Regions from separate parts of the Homo sapiens genome. Here all the other regions are linked to region 2. The links are contacts of gene promoters, found by promoter capture Hi-C in human tissues and cell types (Jung and others, 2019). All regions are on one chromosome and are shown on one strand. Each heading gives the region's core, a stretch centred on a gene start or on the middle of the fragment in contact. The rest is flanking DNA. Distances are from core to core; before and after follow the strand shown.

Region 1 (2,700 bases), core at 152-2,651, 57 kb before region 2:
AGCTCCTAGTACAGAATAGACAGATGCTCTTTACAAGGAAGTACACAGGGCGGGGGGTGGGGCGGTGTGGAGAAGATAGATGTTCCATAAATGCTAATGAAATTTACATTTACTCCAAGTAGACGGCACTGAATAAATACTATATCAGAAATATAAATCCATGGCAAATCCATCATTTGCTCTAGACAAAAACCCACACTTCTCCAAAAGGATACGAGAGAGAGGAAGAGCCAGAATAAGAATCAGTGGCTCATGTGCTTAAGACTCACATGGGAAGCTTATTTAAAATATACACTTCTGGGCCAGGCACGGTGGATCACACCTGCAATCCCAGCACTTTGGGAGGCTGAGGCAGGCGGATCGCTTGAGCCCAGGAGTTCAAGACCAGCCTGGGCAACGTGACGAAACCCCATTTCTACCAAAAAAAAAAAACAGAAAAATTAGCCAGGCATGGTGGTATCCGCCTGTAGTCCCAGTTATTTAGGAGACTGAGGTGGGAGGATGGCTTGAGTCCAGAAGGTAAAGGTTGCAGTGAGCTGAGACTGCACGACTACACTCCAGCCCAGGCAACAGAGTCAGACTCTGTCTCAAAAAAAAAAAAAAAAAGACAGATTTCTTTCACACAAATACATGTAAGACAAAAATTTGACACTGTTTTATTTATAACAGCCCCAAACTAGAAACATCCAAAGAGCCATCAAGAGGTGGACGGGTAAGCAAATCATGGTGGGTCCATCAAAAGGCATGCTAGTTAGCAACAAACCAGAGAGCGTCTGCTGACGTGCCCGACAGCACAAGGGAGCTGCACAGACATTTCGTTAAAGCAGCCAGACACGAGACATGCAGTCTGATTCTCAAAAGACAAACCATTCTACGGGAAGCGGAGAGTGGTTACCTAGGGCAAGAATGGAGGAAAGGGCTCCCCAGGGAAAGGATGGAACCTTTGGAATGATAGAAATCTACTGTTTTGACTGTGATTCTGGTGGCTCCATTTGGATGTATATCCACTTGCTCTATGTAAACACTATCGCAATAAAATTGACTTTAGAAGACTAAAAGAATTAAAAAACCCTGTAATCCCACCAATTTTAAAAATGTCCCCTCCTCATATTCTAATCCTATAGACCTACCTTGGGGGCTTGGGAACCTGTATTTTTGTTTGTTTGTTTGTTGAGATGGAGTCTTGCTCCGTCGCCCAGGCTGGAGTGCAGTGGTGCAGTCTCAGCTCACTGCAACCTCCACCTCCCGGGTTCAAACAACTCTCTGCCTCAGCCTCCCAAGCAGCTGGGATTACAGGTGTGCCCCACCACACCCGGCTAATTTTTGTATTTTTAGTAGAGACAGGGTTTCACCATCTTGGCCAGGCTGGTCTTGAACTCCTGACCTCGTGATCCACCTGCCTTGGCCTCCCAAAGTGCTGGGATTACAGGCATGAGCCACCGCACCCGGCCAGGAACCTGTATTTTTAACAAATGCACAAATATTCTCATGCTAGAGGTCCTCAGATCACCCACACCTTGGGATAGGCAATCTTGGCTGGGAAAAAGCTATTGTCTGCACTTCTTTAAACCAATCCAGACAGGGGAAGAATATGACTAAGAAGGAGTGCCCTCTGGGATAAGGACACTCAAAACCTCAGCCTGCCAAGTGCTACTTTGGTTCTCACTAAGACACAAGAGCTTTCAGGGCCGGCTAGGTTCAATGATGAAGCACATTTCAAAAGCCAATCCATGGCTCTTTGCTTAAATCCCATTAAGGGGATTATAATCAAACTGTGGCTGCTCCATTAAGTTCTGTTAAATGCTAACATTTGACCTAAATGCTTTTAATTCAAGTCAGAAAAGACTGTTGGAACATATGCCCTCAACTTGTAGGTGTGGTGAGGGCTAGTTTTGAATGAAACGCTCTGAATTCTCAAAAAAAAAAAAAAAAAATCTTCAACTTGTATATGATCAACTTCCTTTGAATGAAATGACTTAACTGGTTACCTAATACACAGAGTCCGACTTCAGGGAGTTTGCAATTCTGATGCTGATCCTAGCTATAATTATTCCATTTAAAGCTCCAAGCAGCAACGAATGAACTTGTAAGCAGTGGTGATTATTTGATCTTGTGATGACAAGTATGCTCACAGCATGTGACTGAATTTAAAAAAAAAATAACAATCATCCTGCAGTCTTCTCCAAAACACTGCAGGAACTCTTGATCTTGTTTGTTTGTTTGTTTGTTTGTTTGTCTTTTTTGAGACACAGTCTGGCTCTGGCACCCAGGTTGGAGTACAGTCAAGCAATCGCAGCTCACTGCAACCTCCCACCTCAGCCTCCTGAGTAGCTGTGACCACAGGCATGCGCCACTATGCCCAGCAAATGTTTGTATTTTTTGTAGAGACAGGGTCTACTTGTTGCCCAGGCTGGTCTCGAACTCCTGAGCTCAAGCAATCCTCCCGCCTCAGCCTCTCAAAGTGCTGGGATCACAGGCATGAGCCACCATGCCTAGCCAGCGCTCATTTTTCAAACCGCAAGTCAGTACCTACTAGTAGGTCATGAAATTAAATTAGTGGATCTTGACCAGAATTTTTAAAACAATGGCATTTGACAGAACAAAAAACTTCAGAGCATATCTCAAAAGACAGGGGTAACCGAGAGTGTCAAGGTAAAATGCTTCATGCTGTGGGTCAGGGGAAAAGAGTCTGCAAGTCAC
Region 2 (2,700 bases), core at 69-2,568:
CCAGGTTCAAACACCTTCAGGGGAGGCAGGCAACGTCACCTGCAACGGTGAAAAAGGCAGGTGTAGACAACCAGAAACGGTGAGGCCCAAACCCAACAGCATTCAAATACAAAAGCATAAAATAAAAATGCTCCAGCCACCCCAATTCCAGCCTTTTGCTTCAGAGAGGACGAAGCCGGCTGAGGGAGGTCACATGGCCAATTAGTGACAGCTCAAACCAGACTGCCTCCGGACTCCCAGTCCCATGTCCTCGCACATCCCGGGGCCTTCTCTGCGCGCAGATGACCCAATTGTCAGCAGGGACTGCATCTTCCCCCGCCCGTCTCCCAGCACTGCAAGAATAGAAGTAGCACCTACTACAAACGCTGCAGACCCAGAAAGCCCTTATGGGTGACTTTCTTCCACCTGCAGTTGCCCTCATTTACCCTTTGCCCTGACAATCGATAATTTCCCATCAGTCACGCTTAAACCCCCAGCCTGCAGGCCGACATCCTATCAGCCACCCATCCAAGGGGGGGCATCTAGGACCAAACGAAGGAGAAAATCCTGCGCCTTAAAGTAGTCACACTCGAAATGTCATTTTTTCCCCCCGAAAGGTGGCAAGGAGGGGGACTCGCGACCCCCCAGGGAACAGGCCAGAAAGGCCCCGGGGTCGGAGGAGCTGCTTCTAAAATTACTTCGCGCAGTCTTTGTAGAAGGGAAGAAAGCAAGAATGTAAAAGGCACCCTCTTGCCGCCCCTCCTGATGCCCCTGAATTCCAGGGGGCGAGACGATGCCCGTGCGCACCACCGGGGGAGGGGCGAGGGAAGCGACCCCAGGACGCGCGGGCGCAGAGCCCGGGAGGAGGCGGCGGCAGCCAGTGGGGTTCTGGGGGCGCCCCATTTGCCTCCCCGCTGCGCGGCCTGAGGGCCCGAGCGCGCTGTGGCTCCCGTGGCGGGAAGGGGTGGGTACCCCGGGGGCCCGGCCCGGCCGGCAGAACGGCAGGAGCTGAGGGCCGCCGGGCATCTTGGGCCCCGGGGCCAGGGTGGCCGGCGGGCGCGGGGTCCCGGGAGATGGGTCGGGGTGGGGGCGCGCAGGCCGCGCCGCGGGGCCGGTGGGTGACAGCGCGCGGGGGCCGTGCCAGGCCGGCCTCGTGGGCGCGGCGAGCACCTCGCGGCCCCGCCGGCAGGTGCGGCCCGCAGGCCGGGCAGGGGGCGCGGCGGCCGGGCTCTCACCTGGCTGCAGCTCGCGTGGTTCCCGTCCTGCCGCCGCGCCTCGGCGCCGCAGTGCCCGCTGCAGCCTCCGCCTCCGGTCCCCGCGACAGCCGCCTGCAAAATGGCGCCGCGGAGGGGCGGGCCGGGGGCGGGGTGCAGCGGAGCCGCCCGCCCCCGCGCCGGTCTGGGGCCCACCTCCCTCCCCGCCCCCGACCCCTGCCCTCGGGCCTCCCCCCGGGGAGGGGCTGCTCCCTGGCACCCGGCAGCGCTCCCCGGAACATCCCGGGCCTCGCACCCAGCCGTCCCCTTCCCGTTCCTTTCATTTCCCTCCCCTGCGCAGAAAGATCGCCCCCCTTCGCGACCCTTCCCACCAGTCACACCTGTTCCTGGGGACCCACCTGGCAAGCAGAGCGCTGGTCCCTGAGTGTCCTGGTCCAGGTCCCCCCTTTTTACCCCGCCTGCCACCGAGCCCTGTCATTGCTCGAGCGTGATAAGCAAGCAGTTTGTGGTGCATTGGGCTCAGTGGGTTGGATGTTTTAAAACAATTTCACCGCTTCTCCACTTAGGTAGCCAGTTTTTTTAACCTAACTGGAGAAGAAGTCCTTCTTACCTCATGCAGAGATCGTAATACAGACCAAGGCTTTTCAGACGTGAATTCTCTGGGGGTCGTGTTAGGCTAGGGGCGGGTTCACATTCAGTGGCTCTGGGGTGCAGCCCAAAAGTCTGCACTTCTAAATTGTCCCCAGGTGATGCCCCCGGGTGAGGTTCTTGGACCGCTAAGCAGAAAGGCCAAGTGTAAATCCCTGGCCCTCGGTCTTAGAGCTGGGCAGCCTCACTTTGAGGACTTCATTAAGATGCAGATGGCTGGGCCCCACCCCCAGAGTTGCTAAGGCTGGAGGTCTGGCGTGAGGCTCCAGAATCTGCATTTCTGCCAAGTTCCCAGGTGATGCTGATGCTACTGGTCTGGGGACCACACGTATTGAGCCACTGCTGAAATCTGAATACAATTTTTTAAATGTTCTAATAATTAGTACTTTCTTAACACCTTCCATCTTGAAACCGTTGTCATGGTTGCTTTACTAACTGAATGATAATGTACTAGTTCCCGGGCAACTCTTGAGAAACAGAATTGTAGACGGTGTCTGTCTGACCTCACATGGAGAGAAATTGATTTTATAATCAGAATTATTTATGTGTTTTACACAGTTTTGGAAAGTGACATCACACATATTAATGCAGTTGGGGGAGCAGCAACTAAAGGAATTTTATGAAATAGGCAAGTGTGGTCTGTGTCTTGACAATAATGTGTCTTCCCATTTATTTATCTAATAACTGCATTTTTATTTGCTTATATTTAATTTTTTAGAGACAAGGTCTCACTCTGTCACCCAGGCTGGAGTGCAACGGCACAATTAAGGCTGCAGCATCAACCTTCCAGGCTCAAGGGATCCCCCAACCTTGGCCTCCTAAGTAGCTGGGATGACAGGACCACACCACCAGGTCCAGC
Region 3 (2,700 bases), core at 111-2,610, 37 kb before region 2:
GCTAGATGGCCTGGCGCAGTGGTTCACACCTGTAATCCCAGCACTTTGGGAGGTCGAGGCAATGGATCACCTGAGGTCAGGAGTTCGAGATCAGCCTTGCCAACATGGTAAAACCCCATCTCTACTAAAAATACAAAATTAGCCGGGTGTGGTGGCATGCACCTGTAATCCCAGCTACTCAGGGGGCTGAGGCAGGAGAATCGCTTAGAACCAGGGAGGCGGAGGTTGCAAGTGAGCCAAGATAACGCCACTGCACTCCAGCCTGGGTGACAGAGCAAGACTATCTCAAAAAAAGTTGCCAGATGATGGCAAAGAGGAAAAAGGCTTCAAAACTAACAGTGGTAGTTGAATTAAGGCTGGAGGACACAGCCTGCTATTCCCTCTACCTGGAAATACTGCAACACCTGGAGAATGTAAATATCAATTCCTCAGCAAATCCTTTCCACATCTCCCAAAATCCAAACCACTCACTTCACTCTTTGCTATTCTCCCAAAGCAAGGAGCACAATTCATGCCAAATGTCCTTCGTTATCCAAAGTTATGCTTTTCTCAAGTTCATGAAGCCAACCAGGGATCCACGTTTTCTGGGTCTATCCAGTTCCTAAATTGTGATCAGCAGAAAATAAGCGAAGGGTATATACCTAAAGATGTATCCAGCAAGCCACCAAGTCAGGAAAGCAGGTGCTCTGGCATGCTGGCTTCAGGACCCCTTAGTCACAGCCACTTAAAAGTAGTCTGCATGGCTATAAGAATCCCTAAGGCTGCCATAACTCCTTTAATATGATTCTCTGTGTTGCCAATAGGAATATGACCATATGTAAGCTTTCTTATTAAAAAAAAAAAATGTAAAAAATCTGACCAGGCACGGTGGCTCACGCCTATAATTCCAGCAGTTTGGGAGGCCAAGATGGGTGGATCACTTGAGGCCAGGAGTTCAAGACCAGCCTGCCCAACATGGTGAAAACTCGTCTCTACTAAAAATATAAAAATTAGCCAGGCATGATGGCACACACCTGTAGTCCCAGCTACTCCTGAGGCTGAGGCACCAGAATCACTTGAACCCAGAAGGCGGAGGTTGCAGTGAGCTGAGATCGTGCCACTGCACTCCAGCCTGGGTGACATAGTGAGACTCTGTCTCAAAAAAAGCAAAAAATCAAAAAGGCAGAAATAAAATAAAATGTACCATTTATAATTTACACAACAAATTGTAATTGTAAATTTAGTAAATAATTTTTAACATCCCGTTAACATGCAAGCACTTTGGATATACTGCTAGTGGGAGTAATAATTGCCATTAACTTATTTTTTTTTTTTTGAGATAGGGTCTCACTCTGTCGCCGAAGCTGGAGTGCAGTGGCACAATCATGACTCACTGCAGCCTTGACCTTCCTGGGCTCAGGTGATCCTCCCACCTCAGCCTCCCAAGTAGCTGGGATTGTAGGCACATACTAATTTTTCTATTTTTGGTAGAGATGGGGTCTCCCCACGTTGCCCTGGCTGGTCTTGAACTCCTGGGCTCAAGCAATCCGCCCACATCAGCCTCCCAAAGTGCTGGGATTATAGGCGTGAACCACTGCACCCAGACATAACATTTTTAGATGGTAATTTAACATCACCAATCAAAGGCTCTAAAAATACACATAGCCTTTGACCTAACAATTTTACTCTTAAGGAATTTATCCTAGCAAAATAATTAAAACAGGCTTAAATTTTTCATTTTGTGAGTGTTCATTAAAATAATGCTTAAGAGTAATCCAAAACCGGAGGGGAAAATATTAATGCCTAAAATAGAGGACTGGTTGGTACAATTGTGGGCACATTCTTATATGAGCATATTACAGAGATTAAAACATGGGTGACTGACGTGGCAACGTAAGGAGTGCATTATTAAGCTGAGAAAAAGACAGGCTTACAAAACAAACCTGATAATCCCATTTCAGTGTGTGCACACATGCAGAAAATGAAGGGACACCAAAAAATTAGCCAGGTGTGGTAGCACACTCCTGCAGTCCCAGCTACTCAGGAGGCTGAGGCAGGAGGATCCCCTGCACCCGGGAGGTAGAGTTGCAGTGAGATCGCACCACTGCATCCCAGCCTGGGTGATGAGAGCAAGACTCTGTCTCAAAAAAAAAAAAAAGAAGAAAAGAAAAAAAGGAAGGAAGAGAAGAGTAGAAGAGAAGGGAAAAGAAGAAAAAAAAAAAGAAAGGAAAATGGAGGAAAACACCAAAATAGTACATGATTATCTCCAGATGATGGGATTATATGTGGTTTTTTTTCCCCTTATTTTTCTACAGTGTACATATGTCACTTTCATAATTCTTAAAAGCTTGAGCCATTATCTAAGGACAACACTGAAATAAATATACAGGTAAGACAAACTAGAAGAGAAATTCTGGCAGTCAACACCAGTGCTGAGAAAAAACACCCTATTGATATAGTCAGTGTGCTCCCGGAGAGAGCGCTGGGAGGGCTAGAGTTTCCTGGTAACCAGGAGCCTAAATTTATCATTCCTAAGGGCTTGCTGATGGCACCTGAGTAACTTAGGAAACCAAAGGTGTGGTCAAAAGGTAAGCGCTCTTCATACTCGGTAAACCTACTGTGTTCAGGGGTTCCTGATTTTCCTTAAATCCTTTTTATTCTTGGATCTCAACTCTTCCAAGGGCTGTCTTTATCTAACATTAGTTACTATACTTCTTCACA
Region 4 (2,700 bases), core at 123-2,622, 44 kb after region 2:
GGTTATTGTGAAGTAAAACTTGTAGAATGGAGCTTGGCACAGAGTAAGCTTCAATCAATGTCAGCTCTTCATTACCCAACCTTGGCGCTGCATGACGAACACCTGTGGATGGTTAAAAACTGCACTGCAGGTTACTTCCCTCAGAGCCTCTGGGGTGGGACCCAGGCTTCCGTATTTTTTTTTAAGCCCCTTAGGTAATTTCATTGTGTGCACAGGGCTGAAAACTGCCTGAGGCTGCAGTCTCTCAAGTGCTAGTTCACACAGATATTTATTTATTTATTTTTTGAGACAGAGTTGCGCTCTTGTCATCCAGGCTGAAGTGCAATGGCGCAATTTTGGCTCACTGCAGTCTCCGCCTCCCAGGTTCAAGAGATTCTTCTTCCACAGCCTGCCGAATAGCTGGGATTACAGGTACGCGCCACCATGCCGGGCTAACTTTGTATTTTTAGTAGAGACGGGGTTTCACCATGTTTCACCATGTTGTCCAGGTTGCTCTCAAAATCCCGACCTCAGGTGATCCACCTACTTTGGCCTCCCAAAGTGCTGGGATTACAGGCATGAGCCACCATGCCCGGCCACACACAGATAAATTTAAACGTTCCCTACAGGTCTTTGTTGGGTCCTTTTGGAAGCAACTCCTGCCCCCGTGCCCCACAAAGGAGCATTTTCTTGTATGTGTCAGAATCATTTCTCTTTTCCCCTACCCCACTGCAAACCCCACCCAAGTTCAGAAGAAAAATACCTTCAAGAACTCTGACCAGATAGAGGAAAAGTGCATTGACTCAATCTACCTCCTTCCTCACTCCCTTCTTGGAGGAGGCCCCTTCCCAAAAGACCTTCCTGGAAAAATCTTCCTTTGGTGTCTCCAAGGAACTATGCTCTCCAGGGCACGCAACAACAGAGTAAGAATTCATCTACCACTAAAGACTGAATATAGTATGCAGTATAAAACTATTTAAAAGGGCCAGACGCGGTGGCTCATGCCTGTAATCCCAGCACTTTGGGAGGCCGAGGCGGGTGGATCACGAGGTTAGGGGTTCAAGACAAGCCTGGCCAAGATGGCAAAACCCCATCTCTACTAAAAATACAAAAATTAGCCGGGCATGGTGGCGGACACCTGTAATCCCAGCTACTCAGGAGGCTGAGACAGAGAATTGCTTGAACCCGGGAGGCAGAGGTTACGAGATCACACCACTGTATTCCAGCTTGGGCGACAGAGCAAGACTTCATCTCAAAAAAAAAAAAAAAACTTATTTAAAAGAAGGCGCCAGGCCAGGGTCGGTGGCTCACGCCTGTAAATCCCAGCACTTTGGGAGGCCAAGGTGGGGCAGATCACCTGAGGTCAGGAGTTCGAGACGAGCCTGGCCAACACGGTGAAACCCTGTCTCTACTAAAAATATAAAAATTAGCCAGATGTGGTGGTGCGTGCCTGTAATCCCAGCTACTCAGGAGGCTGAGGCAGGAGGATCACTTGAACCTGGGAGGCGGAGGTCGCAGTGAGCCGAGATCACGCCACTGCACTCCAGCCTGGGTGACACAGCAAGACTCCGTCTCATAAATAAATAAATAAGGCACCATAACAAAATACAGTTTATCCTAAACATGGTTTAATAGTTGGGAAGTTGGTCATATTATGTCTTTTTCCTAAATACATGCAGAGGTAAGAGACCTAACCCTGGGAGTGTGTTTGGAGGAATGAATGCTTTAAAATCAATCCCAGAATCGGTAAGTGTAATGCACAACAGTAACTGAATGACAGACAAAAACCACATGATCATCTTAGTCAATGCACAAAAAGCTTTTGAAAAAGTTCAACACGCTTTCATGATTAAAAAAAAAATGCAGCAAACTAGAAATAGAAGAAAACTACCACAATATGATAGCCATATATGAAAACCCCATAGTTAAATCATACTCAATGATGCAAGACAAACTTTTTCCTCGAAGATCAGGAACAAGACAAGAATGCCCACTTTCACCACTTCCATACCACGTAGTCTTGGAATTTCTAGATAGAGCAATTAGGCAAAAAGGAAGAAAAGGAAAGAAAAGAAAAAAGAAAAGGAAAAGGAGGGAATAGAAAGAAAAGAAGAAAGAAAGAAAATGCATCCAAATTGGAAAGGAAGAAGGAAAATTATTATTCATAGATTATATGATCTTAGAAAACCCTAAAGATTCCACAAAAAACCCTTTGGAACTACTAAACAAATTTGGCAAAGCAGCAGGACACAAAAGCAATACATGAAAATCAGTTGTGTTACTATATACTAACAAAGAACAATCTGAAAATGAAATTAAGAAAATAATTCTATTTATAATAGCATAAAAAGAATACAGCTGGGTGCGGTGTCTCACGCCTGTAATCCCAGCATTTTGGGAGGCTGAGGCAGGCAGATCACATGAGGTTGGGAGTTCGAGGCCAGCCTGACCAACATGGAGAAACCCCTTCTCTACTAAAAATACAGAATTAGCTGGGCATGGTGGTACATGCCTGTAATCCCAGTTACTCGGGAGGCTGAAGCAGGAGAATCGCTTGAACCCCATAGGTGGAGGTTGTGGTAAGCTGAGATCGTGCCATTGCACTCCAGCCTGGGCAACAAGAGCGAAACTCCATCTCTAAAAAAAAAAAAAGGAATAAAATAGTCATTGAAAGACTTGTGCAATGAAAACCACAAAACATTGCTGAAAGCAATTTTAAAA

The links. Contacts are between HindIII fragments. The study calls those that stand out against the background at their distance.
Region 1: a fragment that was not itself captured here is called in contact with the fragment with the promoter of SLC23A2 in region 2 in 1 of the 25 tissues and cell types used here (spleen).
Region 3: a contact is called between a fragment that was not itself captured here and the fragment with the promoter of SLC23A2 in region 2, in 2 of the 25 tissues and cell types used here (adrenal gland and pancreas).
Region 4: a contact is called between a fragment that was not itself captured here and the fragment with the promoter of SLC23A2 in region 2, in 1 of the 25 tissues and cell types used here (spleen).

What each region holds. Positions count from the first base shown.
Region 1 is chr20:4,943,086-4,945,785 of GRCh38, forward strand. All of the region lies in intron 2 of SLC23A2 (solute carrier family 23 member 2), which reads right to left. Among named protein-coding and RNA genes, the nearest start is that of SLC23A2, 57 kb to the right of the region's middle. The HindIII fragment of the contact is 3,038 bases long and covers 1-2,700 here.
Region 2 is chr20:5,000,192-5,002,891 of GRCh38, forward strand. It overlaps SLC23A2 (solute carrier family 23 member 2), which reads right to left and starts at 1,319. Exons shown (of 17, transcript NM_005116.6): 1 at 1,215-1,319. RefSeq lists silencers at 835-994, 1,185-1,424, a promoter at 1,208-1,406 and enhancers at 1,715-1,864, 2,649-2,700. The HindIII fragment of the contact is 14,848 bases long and covers 633-2,700 here.
Region 3 is chr20:4,962,710-4,965,409 of GRCh38, forward strand. All of the region lies in intron 2 of SLC23A2 (solute carrier family 23 member 2), which reads right to left. Among named protein-coding and RNA genes, the nearest start is that of SLC23A2, 37 kb to the right of the region's middle. The HindIII fragment of the contact is 3,149 bases long and covers 1-2,700 here.
Region 4 is chr20:5,044,171-5,046,870 of GRCh38, forward strand. No RefSeq gene overlaps it. Among named protein-coding and RNA genes, the nearest start is that of SLC23A2, 44 kb to the left of the region's middle. RefSeq lists a silencer at 1,069-1,288. The HindIII fragment of the contact is 5,043 bases long and covers 1-2,700 here.